Regions from separate parts of the Homo sapiens genome. Here regions 1, 2, 3 and 5 are each linked to region 4. The links are contacts of gene promoters, found by promoter capture Hi-C in blood cells and fetal thymus (Javierre and others, 2016). All regions are on one chromosome and are shown on one strand. The core of a region is centred on a gene start or on the middle of the fragment in contact, and the rest is flanking DNA. Distances in the headings are between cores, read along the strand shown. Region 1 has its middle 20 kb from the start of BTG3-AS1. Region 2 has its middle 22 kb from the start of BTG3. Region 3 has its middle 37 kb from the start of LINC03147. Region 4 holds the start of C21orf91-OT1 (C21orf91 overlapping transcript 1). Region 5 has its middle 39 kb from the start of BTG3.

Region 1 (2,700 bases), core at 60-2,559, 200 kb before region 4:
ACTAATGCTATTAAATTTGGAAGTGGGTGATGGTTTCTGCAATGAATAAAATGTACATATTTTAAAGAGGAATTGCATGAGCCTTCCCTTGTGCTCATGAGTGCTTGTGTGACAACTTCGCAGTACGAGTCAATGCCATAAAGTGCCATATGCAATGCAGGGATATTGTTGTGTTTCCGTAAGAGCCTCACAATGTTATTGCTTCATCCATTGCAATAGATTCCAGAGTATATGAAGAAATTTGGCACAAAGTTTACTAACGTTGTACACTCTGTTAAATTGCCAAGTAACTGATAAGTAAGAAAAAAAAGTTAAAGACTGTGACAGACTTGGGAATTACTACTCATTATGTGTGATCTTTCCATGTAACAAGTCATTGGTACAGTTTGCTTTGTCATCTCAGTCTTCACTCTACTGGGTTGTACTGTTTATTGCAATTTAATTTCTATTTCCAGCAATAAAATTACTATCAGATGATCAGCCAGCTCCCTCTTCAGATATATCTGAGTAGTTTGTAACAAGAAACTTGGCCAAAGATTTATTAGTGGTTAATCAATAGATACTTTAATGTCTTATATTCTCATTAATTTACCTTCGCACTGGTTCCTTTTTTTAAAAAAAATCTTGGTCTGATAATGAACCTTCTTACAAGTTTCAAGATTTGGTAGATTTTATAGGTAACAAAATGAATCTGATGGCAAGGTACCATGGCATGGGCCTTAAAAAAGCCCAGCTGGGTTTTAAGTCAGAGCTTCATTATTTAGTTTTCTGTGATCTTGGGCATTTTTAACTTCTCTGGAATCCTTATCTAACTGGGATGATAATGGTACATACCCCCTGAGGCTGTGATGATTAAATAAGTTGTTGCCATGTAGTAATAAAAATTAAAAAAATTATTTACTATTATCTGTAAAATGGACAGAATGGCTACACAATAAACTGTACATGGTAGGTGTTTGTATTTTTCCCTCTTCCTAATCATAAAATAAGAAATTAACACATACCTCTGTTAGCTGAGAAGTCAACATAAATGCTTTATTATCTTAACTTGGAACCACAGAAGTTTACTAAAAAGTTAAATACTTTGAGATAAATATTATACTAATAAACCAGAAATAAGCACTGCTTTAGTATTAATGTGATAGAACTTACTAAAACTTTTTTTTTCAAATATCCAAGTTTAACCTATAAAATTTAGAGCTTTGCAGTTATGCCTACAAATACAAAAATAAAATGGAGAATTTAAACAAATTATTGTTCAGTGATAAACCACTCCTGCTTGAAATAGCCCGATAAGGCTTTCAAGCTGAAATTATGTAGTCATGTTTTAAGAGCCACCTTGGAGTTGTCTAAGGGAGACAAACTTAAGAGAACAAAGCACCTAGAGTCATAATTACTACTAAAAAAGGGTTTGGCAAACTTTTGTACCCCATGCTTGCTAGAACTTAAGACCCAGTTGCTGAGTGACAGTTTTATTTCATTAGGAATAGATTGGAAAAGCCATATTTATGAGAGCTTTCTTTTGCTCTAAATAAGTTTCAGGACAAGGTGGAGGATGGGTAGTCGAAACACTGGCAGAATCTTCTATGAGTAATAACATCTACCTGTATGCAGTTGAATTCAAAACTAGTGGTTTCCCCAAGAGGCCCTGTCATTTAATCGTCAGAACTAATTAAGGAGATTTTGTAGTAACGTGGAATGTTCTGGCTACTAGGTATGTGCCAAAAATAACACTTCCTTCTTTACACTATTATGCTTCTGATTTTCCCAACAAACCTATATAGTCATCCCTCAGTATCCTTGGAGGATTTGTTCCAGGACCCTCCTGGATACCAAAATCCTCAGATGCTCAAGTGCCTTATATAAAATGGCTTCGTATTTGCATATAACCTATGTACATCCTTTAAATCTAGATAATACCTAATGCAATGTAGTTATATTTTAAAATTTGTATTTTTTTAATTTTTGAGTATTTTCCATACATGGTTAAATACAGATGAAAAACCTACAGATGAGGACCAATTTGCTCATAAGCAAAGCAATAAATAAATTCTGTCTGCTAACTTCATGATAAAAATACTTGAAACTTTCCAACTTTACGCCAATCACCTACAAATCTGTCATTATCACCACAAAACTCTCAAGGACCCATAAGGAAGCAGTGTGATGACTCTGAAAGTAATTTTTTTTTCCTTTTTTTCTTTCAATAACTTTGGTTAAAAAAAATTGATAAAACGCATCTCCCTTGTGACACTAATAAACAAACATGCTCATGTTTGAATAGGCAGTCACTAGATTTCAGGAAAAGAGTAGATATGGTTTAGAGAGATGTTAAAATTGTGTATGGCTTAAAGAGTACAATATTAAAGCTAGAAAAGTCTCTAAGGTTTAAAAATGAGTTTTCTGAAGTTGCAAACTTTAAAAACTGACATTTTCATACTATTGAGCTATACCTTTATGATTTGTGCAGTTTTGTATTTCAACAGAATTTATCTTCCTAAAAATAACAATAATTTGTGGAATAGCCATGGCCATTCAATGATTTATTAGCAAGTTGTGATTTTTCTGGTAAGTCAAATAATTTAAGACTGCAAATTTAAAGATGAAGGTGATGGAAAAAGTATTGCTGATCTTAGTTTTTAAAAATTTACCTTTGGAGAAAAATCAAAACTCTTATAGAGATATCTCTTTTTTTCTTTT
Region 2 (2,700 bases), core at 170-2,669, 160 kb before region 4:
CTCCATCTCTACAAAAAATAATAGCTGGGTGAGTTGGTGCACATCTGTAGTCCCAGCTACTCAGGAGGCTGAGACAGGAGAGTCACTTGAGCTGGGCGGAGGCTGCAGTGAGCTGTGATCGTGCCACTGCACTTCAGCCAGGGCAACAAAGCAAGACCCCTCAAAAAAAATTAAAAGAAAAGATTGTCCCCACATAGTCCCAGACACACTTTTCATCTATTCTTCTGAGGAATGGTGCCTGAGAGACTTTATCTGCGTAATTAGACAGCCTTTGTTCACAGTGCAATTCTGCCACTAAACTTCTCATAAATTGTCACCATCTCTCTCAGAGCCCAGACTAACTTTGTCCCAGGCTATTGTCTGTTCTTTGAGCCAATTCATCTCCCCTAAAAATTATCTATTCTTCCTCTAAAATTACCTACATCCCCTCCTTCCCTCTGCCTTATGAAGAAGGTATTTAACCTTCAATAATCTGGCCCTTCTTTGAGTTTTATACTTTGTCTGACTCCCATGTGCTTGTACATTTATAAATTTGTATGCCTGTTCTCCCATTAATCTGTCTATTGTAAGTTTGTTTATAGATTCGAATTCTCAAACCTTCAGGAGGTGAAAAGAAAGTTCCTTTTGCCCTTACAACAACGTGAGACTAGCTCTGAAGTTTTCATTAGCTATGTGAAGCTTATATCTCAGAATAGCCTCACATACACTGGTAAAGATTAGCAGGTCATTTGGGCTGATGGCATAGTCTGGAATAACAGAGGAGGAAATAAAATTTTAAAAGCTCATGAACCCAAGAGTATGATCTTCAGAGGAGAGATTTCCTATCTCTTAAATTCTACGTAAATAGTGAAGTCCTATATGGGGGGGATCCTTCATCTGGGGCCTACCTTGGGCAGAATAATGTAGTTGTACCTCATTCTATCATAGCTAAAAGACAAAGTACTTTTTAAGACTTTGCAAAATTTTGTTCATGTTGCGTATCTTTTTAAAGTCTGACTCTCTGCACTAAAATAGGATAGCCTAAACAGGGCTCTTTTCGGAGTAAAATTATTATGAGCCCAGTAGTTTTCCCAGTAAGTAAGCTATCAGAACTTACAAAAATATGAGACAGAGCTTTGCAGATGTAGCTAGAGAAAGGTCAGTTGGTGGACTTGAACTTGTTTTTAGTTTATTTATGTATTCTCCAATACTCTAGACTGTTCTAGAAATCACTAGAGAGAAATAATGGTGGTATTCCATGCCTATGATACATCACAGACTACATTTGGAGGACTGCAGAAAGAAGCAAAAACAGAAGTTTCCATAATGAGTGGTAGAGATGTGCTAAATGTCTTCTTTTTCAAACTTTAATTTTTAATTTTTAATTTTTTTTAGAGATGTGATATTGCTATATTGCCCAGGCTATAGTGCAGTGACTATTCACAGGTGCAGTCATAGTACACTGCAACCCTGAACTCCTGGGCTCCAGCAATCCTCCTGCCTAAGCATCCTGAGTAGTTAGAACTACAGGTGCATGCCACAATACTGGGCTTAATGCCTTCTTTACTGATCCTTGATGGTAAAGGGGAAGACCATTTTAGAACCTTTGATTCCTTGGACATAATCCCATGGTACTGCTCTTTAATAAAGATAAATTATAAGGAATTGGATTCTATAGGGAAGAAATGGATGGAAGTTGTAACAAAATGTAATAGTAATGAAATATTAATAGAAAGGCCTAAATAGAATCTGTGGCATAACTCTCAAAATAGTCCTTTAATAACCTCCTTTTGAAAATATCAAGGTTAAGACCTAGAGACGTAAAGTCCTGCCCAAAGTCAATTGTCTGGTTAGTGGCACACAGAGCACTAAAGTTTACATCAGCAGGTTCCCAGTTCAGTACATCTTCTAGAGCTTCTAAAAATTAATGTGAAGATAGTCTTTGCTCTATTGAAGCATAATTATAAACATCAAATATTTGTAAAATATCTTCTATATAGTAGGATGTTTTTCCTTTTATTTATTAGTAAATTTACCACAATATTAATTTAGTTAGTAAATTAGAATTTTTCTTTCCCATTCATCATTTATGTCACCAGCAGGTAATCCTACTCCATCCTCCCACCACATCTCATTTCATTATCACCTGGCCTCCAGAGGGTGGAATCACTTGGGCACTGCTCAAGCTTATGAGATCTTAAAATTTATTTTTAAAATATTTCAAATCAAAAAGTTTTTGAGCTGTGAAATTTAATAAGATATTGAGCTTTCTTCTAGCCTTTTATCCACTAATTCTACTCTTAGAAATTACTTCCTAAAAAAATACTTTTTAAGAAAACCACACACACACAAAATGTCCTCTAACTTTGTTCTTTTTTCTTCCAAGTTGTTTTGTCTGTTCTAGATCTTCTGCACTTTAATTTAAACTTTAGAGTCAGCTTGCTACTTCTACAAAGTAGCTGGCTGGGATTTCTATTAGAATGCCTTGAATATACAGATCAATTTGGAAGAAATGACGTCTTAACAATATAGAGTCATCTAATCTAGGAATATGGTATATTTCTTAATTGACTTAGGTCTTCTTTAACATTTAATTTTACTCAGCAATGTTTTATAGTTTTCAGTGTACAGGTCTTGAACATCTTTTGTCGAATTTATCCTTAAGTATTTTACAGTTTTGATGCCACTGTACATGGCAAACTTTAATTTTAATTTCTGATT
Region 3 (2,700 bases), core at 13-2,512, 130 kb after region 4:
GAGTCTATGATGCCAATGAAATGTGAAGGTAGTTTGCTGAAGAATTCCCTCTTGCTTGAGGAGGCTGGTCTTTTTGTTCTATTCAGGCCTTCAACTGATCGGATGAGCCTCATCTATATTATGGAGGGCAATCTTCTTTATGCAAAGTTCACTGTTTTAAATGTTAATGCCATTCAGAAACATCATCTAAGTTAACACATAAAATTAACCACCAAGGGTGTGTTGGGCAGAAGTGATGTGTGCCCCTTATAGGCAGGGGGTCTAACCCTCTTGTGTACAATCTTCCATGCTTTCTTCCTTTGCTACTTGGCAGGTGAGAGGTACAGTATCTAGAATAGGATGTAAACTCTAGGGGGATGAAGGAGCCACTAGGAAGAAGGAAGCAAGTCCTTAAAAGATTAGGTGGAATAGACATTTATCCACCTTTGTCTCTCATTGAATTGAGACGTGTGAGAAATAGGCAGATGTTGTGTTAAGCTTTGGGACTTAGGGGTTGTTTATTACAGCAGTTAGTATATCCTGACTGATGAATCATTCTGGCAGCAGGGAGGGCAATGTGTTGACACAGGTTAAGGCTACAGTCAGGAAGGCCAGCTAGGAATTTTTGGTACAAGTCCAGGCAAGAGATAATGCTGAGCTGGACTAGGTTGATGCAGCATGTGGACAGCAGATGTTTAAATTAATCATACTGTGAGTAGTAATAAGCATTTAGTGCTTTACCAAATTATCTCAGTGAACACTCCAAATTTCTATTTTTTCCAAGAAAAAGAATAAATTGACAGATTGTCCAGATTTATTCCACAATAAAGGAAAGTTATGAAATATGATGCTATTTCTGGTTTCTTATTTACAGTTAAGTTCATGTTCAACTTAACCAAAAGAATCTTAGGGAAAGTTGAAGTGATAATGCTTAATTAGGAGGTACATGGCAGTACAGTTAGAGTGAAGAAAAGAAGAAGTGAGACAGAGAAGTCTAAGAAGCAAATTCAAGGTGATATACCAAGTGGGCCACTGCTTATGGCTCTAAAAAAAAAAAAACACTGTACCTCAGAACAACCCAACAGATGGAAAATTGTGGGGGAAATTTATCTGTGAGCTCACTCATGTCTCCTGTCTCCTGTTGGCTAAAGGTCATTCCAGAGAAAATTTACAACATTGTTCCACTGCTTTAGAGGTGGAGCGAGGCCCAGAGATTCTGGATGTCTGGACAGCCTAGTATGACTTGCTGTGGCTGCAATTACTACAGAGAAAGCAGCCAATGGCCCACAAAATAGATGAGGCTGAAGAATCAGAGGAGACACTCAAGATGGGTTGATAAATCTGGTTTGGAACTCATCAGTGGTAGCTCTGATAAGGTTGTTAGCACACTTATCTATGAAGTACTTTAATTAAATAAAGGGTTATTTAATTGCCCATGTAGTGTGATAGTATTACTGCTATTTATGTGGAAATTAAACACAATAACAACAGCAATGTTTTACATTAGATTTCAGGAATGTGGGGTGACATTCCTTATGAGGTCTTAGCTTTAAGTTTATTCTTTTACTGAATGCACTGAGATGTAGCTCCTAAAGGTTGCGAACTCTGAATATCTGAGACAGGTCTCAGTTAATTTAGAGAGTTTATTTTGCCAAGTTTGAGGACATGCAGCCGTGACAGCCTCAGGAGTCCTGAAGACACGTGCCCAAGGTGGTCAGAGCACAGCTTGCTTTTATTCATTTTAGGGAGACGGGAGACATCAGTCAACATATGAAAGATGAACATTGGTTCCTTCTGGAAAAGTGGGACAATTGGAAGCAAAGGTGGGACAACTTCAAGCAGGGAGGGGACTTCCAGCTCATAGGTAGATAAGAAACAAATGGTTACATTCTTTTGAGTTTCTGATTAGCCCCTCCAAAGAAGGCAATGAGATATGCATTTATCTCAGTGAGCAGGGGTGGGGGTTGGCTTTGAATAGAATGGGAGGCAGGTTTGCCCTAAGTAGTCCCAGCTTGACTTTTCCCTTTAGCTTAGTGATTTGGGGGCCTCAAGATTTATTTTCCTTTCACAAGCTTTTCCATTATTTACAGCAGACTTTGTCTTTTTCTGCCTCTTTTTTTTTTTCCTGCCAAAGTCTGCATTATCACCATAAATGCTGACAACTGCCCTATGAGGTAGGTGTAAGCATGGGCTCAATTTTACAGATTTGTAAAATAAATTAAAAAAAGTAAAAAGATGTTAACAACTTTCCCACAAGATCTCAGAGGACATTTTATATAACATTTTCCCTAATTCTTCAGTTTTTTTTTTTTTTTTTGAGACGAAGTCTCGCATTGTTGCCCAGGCTGGAGTGTGGGGTCACAATCTCGGCTCACTGCAACCTCCGCCTCCTGGGTTCAAGCAATTCTCCTGCCTCAGCCTCTGGAGTAGCTGGGACTACAGGTGCCCGCCACTATGTCCAGCTAATTTTTTGTATTTTTAGTAGAGACGGGGTTTCACCATGTTGGTCAGGCTGGTCTCAAACTCCTGACCTCGTGATTCGCCCACCTCAGCCTCCCAAAGTACTGGGATTACAGGCCTGAGCCACTGTGCCTGGCCAGTTCTTCAGTTTTATACAAGTCCCAAAGGCCAGGAACAAAATACTTGTTCTTAAGTAGCCCTATAATTTAGAAAAGGTGCCAAACTACTCATGTGGAACTAGAAAGATGGCAACACAAAGAT
Region 4 (2,700 bases), core at 201-2,700:
CATGTTCTCTTGTTAGAACTCAACTCTGTACCTGATACTTATATTTGCATACACAGTAATTGCATATTTGATTAAGAAAACTAACATAGGACTAAATTATAAGTTTACCAAACATTTGGATAAACTGCTGTGCAAAATACTTCAACAAAAAGTTTTTTTTACTAGGAACTCATCCAAATAAAGTAGTGTGAGTACCAGCACCACAAAGTTTTTTTTAAGAGCACCTCTCCTTTTTAGAGCTTAAGTAGAAATATCTAAATGGAATAAATCAGAGTCCCACTTAAGACCTTAGCACATGCACACGTTCATCCACTTGTTCCGTACTCATTAGCAAAGCTATGTATATTTGTCAGAAAACTCCTTTCTTTGGATAACACTGTTGTATTCAGGACTGCAACTTATGGCTCATATTCTGGAAATATGCTACTATTGATATCAAATGCAACATATCCCCAACTTTTATGACTGTCCCTAACTCATCTAAACACAAACCCAAATGTGTGCAAACACACTGGCTGGTAACAATCTTACTGAATTACGCCAAAAAAGAGTAAAGTCAAATTTGAAAATGTGGGAACAATTAAGCACTAAGATATTAATCAGGAAATGTATTTACCCAGCTTGTAAGTTTGAATATTTTGATATTGCACACATTTAATTTAAAGCTCATCAAAACTAAGGCAATGCATCCATACTCCCTGGATTTTAAATTCATTTTGCATGACTTAAAGAATTGAGAGAAATCGAAAGCATCTTTCAAAAATTCCCTCCAAAAAGTAATGTTATACTTCAAAGAAAAACAAAATCAACAGATATCAATTAATACCCTCAGGCCAATTTAACACGTCAGCATTACAAAAAGTTGTTTTCAATTAAACTGAAGTGTTTCTTTGCTTAAATACTTTCTTGTGTTCAACAACAAAATCTGACCCAAGCCAGGGTAGGCTGCCAAATTTAAGGCAAATGTCATTTATATCTTTATGCATGAAGCTGCCACGTTACTGGGCTTTTCAGCAGATACTTTCAAGCAAGGATCTACCTCATAAGTACATTCTAAACATGAGTTAAAAACAGAATTTAGAGCCCATTTTAATTCTGCATTGGTTATAGCCTTTACTGTAATACATTATTAAAATTTATCTAGCTGTTTGGCACAATCTGTTAGATAAAAACTCTTTGGAAGCATCATAGGCAACTTACGAGAACATTCTCTTAATACATAGGTTTATTTTTTTTTAATTAGGAGTTTTGCTTTTCTTCTGTAGAACAATCCTATATTTCTCTATAGAGTCTAAAGTTTAGAAAAATACCTCACAATGCTTTCTTTGAGCACTAAGTTCAATGATGGTGATAATACAATTTGGACAGTTTAAGTATTCTTGAAACTTTACCCAAAGTGGCACACAAAATAATCTTACTTTTTTTTTTCAAAGACAGAACAATTTCACAGCACACTCAATTTGAAGATAGACATTATATTTGAATTGGAAGTGAGGCTTGACTTACTCTGTCCAAATTCTAATGCATCACAGTCACTGGTGTGAAGCTAATAATGAAAGAAGCAAGAGGAGGCTTTCATTTCTATGGAGACAAATTGACATAGAAGCCAGATTAGTCTTTTCTTCCTGAACTAAGAACTGCTTTTGTTAGAAAACAAAATAATGTATTGTATTTACCTGAATACTGCTTTAAAAAGTTATTAATTCTTCTTTTACAAGAGGTATTAGAAATTAAAACAACTCAGATTTCTAATCCAAAATATATTTATCTTTGGAAAGCAAGGTAACCGTTGTGAAAACATTGTATTAAGAGAATAAAATGCAGTGACCTGAAATATGGGTGAACATATTCACACATGATAATGTAAATAAATATACAGAACCACTCAAATACACATTTATAAAGAGAATGGCAAAGTACCTAAAATAGCATTTTCACATATAAAATTTTTATATTAAAATATTGCTCATAATAAATAAGAGGTGATATGAATTCCATTTCCCTCTTAAAAATTATCTCTAGTAGTTTACACTAAGGAGTTAATCTGTTGTTTTGACAGGTGAATTAAAATGTTTAATAAAATGACACTGTAACAGTATATTTAAGTAGTCACATGTGATAAAATTTGTTTAGTAATTCTGGGAAAAAAGAGTCCCCAAATGAGCCAAAATGATTAGCCCTAGAAGACTAGAGTATAATGATCTGCTTTATTTGACAAAGATGTTAAATACTGCCTTATGTTTGGCAAATTTAATGACCATAAAAAAACGGACCACAACTTTCTTCAAACTTCTTCAAAGTTTGCATGTCTGGGAGACCAATAAAGGGCAGGGCATACGAAGTAAGTCTGTTTAGGTCAGTTGTTTATGGGTAGGTGCGACTTCATTCCTGTTCGCCCTACTTGCAGACATGGTAACTTAGAACAGTTCTTCAGAAGCTGTTCGATGGCAACGTGGCGGACATGGAGCTGTGAGGCCAAAGAATCTTTTTCTTGCACTTGGTGAGTTAACTCTTCAAAAACTTCTGTAAAAGATTTAAAAACTTTCATTTTTAGTATGCAGAAAGCCGGTGCTATGATTTATATTTCAAGAACTCTAACTGAAATCTATGCATTGGGCAAAGTGTCACAATGAAACTGATTTGATACCAAGGAAACAGTTCTGTTCTCTACAAAGCATATCAGTTCTGATCATCCTAGGC
Region 5 (2,700 bases), core at 32-2,531, 140 kb before region 4:
TCTCTTAATGGAAGTTAACTTTTTTTACAGTGAAAATCTCCTTTTCTCACAGACATTCATTCAACTGCATATGTTATAAATATAATTATATACATACCTGCTTATTTATGTTTATATACATATGTATATGTGTATTTAAATTGGAGTATATAAATATATGTATGTATTTTTTTTAATTGACAAATCATAATTGTATACATTCATGGGGCACCATGTTATGTTTTATGTATCTATACAATATGAAGTGACTAAATCTAGCTAATTAACATATCCATCACCTCACTTACTTATAATTTTTTTTTGTGGTGAGACATTTGAAATTTACTCTAAGTTATTTTGGAATATACTATACAATACTGACTGTAGTTACTCTGCCGTGCAATAGATTTCGAAACTTATTTCTCCTAATCATACATTTGTGCCCTTTGACCACCAACTCCCCATTCCCTGCCCCCACAAAATATAGGAAGTTATACATCTTTTTGTTTTCCTCCACAGATACGTGTTTCGTTTTCACTGCTCAAAGGTATTTTCCCCCTTCCCATTCCAAGAAAATAGCCACGCCATTGTGTTCCAGGGGCTTTGGATGGTCGAATGGAAAGCAGGTGTTCCCCAAGAACAGCTTCATTCCATTTTTGTTTTGTTTTGTTTGGATGATTAGACCTACTGCAGGGATTATGCCACATCACGTAGAGTGGAGGAAAAGAAAGATGAGGTCTTCTAGGGGGTGCTGGGAGGTGGAGGCAGAATTGACTTCAGGTAGCAAATTCCTCGAGACAAGAAGGAAGGGAGTTTGGGTGGTTTGCAAAGAAAGTAGCCCCCAGGTCCTGCTTGTTAACTCCTAGTTGGGTGGATTGCCTCAGGACAAAGGGAAGACCTCTAGGAGCCCTGGTCTCAGGAACTGCCTTGATAGAGAAGTCAGAGACCTTTGTCCAAGCTTATCGGTGAGTACCACTTCCCTCAGGGACTAGATCATGAGAGCCTGGACAATAAGCATATCAGTGAGGACCAGTGGAGGCCATACACCTTTCTTTCAGGATTTAGGACCTAAGAAGACATCTCTACTCCCGATTTCTGTGTCACCTGGAAGTGGAATTGGAGGAGGGAAGTCCAGAAATGATTAAAATGCAATTTCCTACTTGCTGACGCAGCTCAATTTGATTTAAACAAAATTTGTGATACTTCTTTTTCTCAGAGCTAAGGTGAAATTTTCACTGCTTTTTCTTTCCCTTACCATTTGTTCATCTGCAAAATGGTGATTATTGTACTCACCTTGCAGAGTTGTTTCTAGCATTTAATCAAATGACCTGTGTAGAGTGACTATATCACCACCATAATAGAAGGTGCTCAATAAATTGTCACTAGGAAATATTCACATTATATGTGTTCATAGTGTTGCAAAAATGGAATCAGGTGCTAGGTTTTTAAAGCACAAGACATACTTCTAGTTTTCAAGAATTTTATATTATAATTATAAAGCTATCTAGAAGTACTAGGTTCATATCTCTAAGCAAGAAATACAGGCAGGTGAATCATGGGAAATTGAATTCCATTCAATTTCATAAAAGTAAATTGAATGGAAGAATTTGGAGGCAGAAGTCATGATGTAAGACAGAAAACCTATGGGAAGCTTAAGAGAGAAGATAGCAACACTAAAGGTGAAAGGAATTTGTCTGTGATGCTATCATTAGAAAATCTCATAAACAGAGAGAAAGAAAATCTTCTCCAACACACAACATTTGGACAGCAGGTTTAGATTTTCTTCATCTTTTTTCTCTTCAATTTTTTTCCACTGCAACGATAAGCTAAGAGATTGATTTTATTTCAAGAATAACTAAGGGTATACTAATATGCATATCTCAAAATAACATTGCATTATTGAAGACATACTGTTCCAATAGTCAAACAGTTAACAGAGAGGGGACAGGAACCAACAAACTGGAAAAACACACCTGTATTATACATAAAAATCAGTGGCCAATATTTCTCCAGTTATTCTCAAAAGAAAAATACTCAGCAAGTTACAAACTGAAAAGCTTTGCTTAAAAGCTAAACAAAACAAAACAAACCTTCCATGTATAAGAAAAGCTCAGCCCCTTAAAAACGAGACTGTTGGTGGGAGTTGAACCGTTGTGGAAGACAGTGTGGCAATTCCTCAAGGATCTAGAACCAGAAATGCCATTTGACCCAGAAATCCCATTACCGGGTATATACCCAAAGGATTATAAATCATTCTACTATAAAGACACATGCACACGCATGTTTATTGCAGCACTATTCACCATAGAAAAGACTTGGACCCAACCCAAATGCCCATGAATGATAGACTGGATAAAAAAAATGTGGCACATATACACCATGGAATATTATGCAGCCATAAAAAAGGATGAGTTCATGTCCTTTGCAGGGACATGGATAAAGCTTAGCATCATCCTTAGCAAACTAACAAGGAACAGAAAACCAAACGCTGCATGTTGTCACTCATAAGTGGGAGTTGAACAATGAGAGCACACGGACACAGGGAGGGGAACATCACACACTGGGGCCTGTCAGGGGCTTGGGGGAAAGGGGAGGGATAGCATTAGGAGAAATACCTAATGTATATGATGGGTTGATGGGTGCAGCAAATCACCATGGCATGTGTATACCTATGTAACAAACCTGCACGTTCTGCACATGTGCCCCAGAACTTAAAGTATA

The links. Contacts are between HindIII fragments. The CHiCAGO score rates a contact against its expected background, and 5 or more counts as called.
Region 1: a contact is called between a fragment that was not itself captured here and the fragment with the promoter of C21orf91-OT1 in region 4, in 6 of 17 cell types (naive B cells, activated CD4 T cells, total CD4 T cells and 3 more). The highest score is 5.7, in naive B cells.
Region 2: a fragment that was not itself captured here is called in contact with the fragment with the promoter of C21orf91-OT1 in region 4 in 2 of 17 cell types (activated CD4 T cells and naive CD4 T cells); the score reaches 5.9 in activated CD4 T cells.
Region 3: a contact is called between a fragment that was not itself captured here and the fragment with the promoter of C21orf91-OT1 in region 4, in 3 of 17 cell types (activated CD4 T cells, naive CD8 T cells and total CD8 T cells). The highest score is 6.4, in activated CD4 T cells.
Region 5: a contact is called between a fragment that was not itself captured here and the fragment with the promoter of C21orf91-OT1 in region 4, in 1 of 17 cell types (activated CD4 T cells). The highest score is 6.0, in activated CD4 T cells.

Annotation. Positions count from the first base shown.
Region 1 is chr21:17,590,447-17,593,146 of GRCh38, forward strand. It overlaps a transcript of CXADR not described here. Among named protein-coding and RNA genes, the nearest start is that of BTG3-AS1, 20 kb to the right of the region's middle. The HindIII fragment of the contact is 5,720 bases long and covers 1-2,700 here.
Region 2 is chr21:17,633,390-17,636,089 of GRCh38, forward strand. It overlaps a transcript of CXADR not described here. Among named protein-coding and RNA genes, the nearest start is that of BTG3, 22 kb to the left of the region's middle. The HindIII fragment of the contact is 1,487 bases long and covers 677-2,163 here.
Region 3 is chr21:17,921,184-17,923,883 of GRCh38, forward strand. It overlaps a transcript of CHODL not described here. Among named protein-coding and RNA genes, the nearest start is that of LINC03147, 37 kb to the left of the region's middle. The HindIII fragment of the contact is 1,574 bases long and covers 476-2,049 here.
Region 4 is chr21:17,791,059-17,793,758 of GRCh38, forward strand. C21orf91-OT1 (C21orf91 overlapping transcript 1) reads right to left here and starts at 1,451. Exons shown (of 4, transcript NR_038871.1): 1 at 1,419-1,451. C21orf91 (chromosome 21 open reading frame 91) reads right to left here. Exons shown (of 5, transcript NM_001100420.2): 5 at 1-2,523. The coding sequence ends at 2,357. The region is part of intron 2 of LOC124900465 (a long non-coding RNA gene); the gene reads left to right. The HindIII fragment of the contact is 3,892 bases long and covers 1-2,700 here.
Region 5 is chr21:17,650,585-17,653,284 of GRCh38, forward strand. No RefSeq gene overlaps it. Among named protein-coding and RNA genes, the nearest start is that of BTG3, 39 kb to the left of the region's middle. The HindIII fragment of the contact is 693 bases long and covers 936-1,628 here.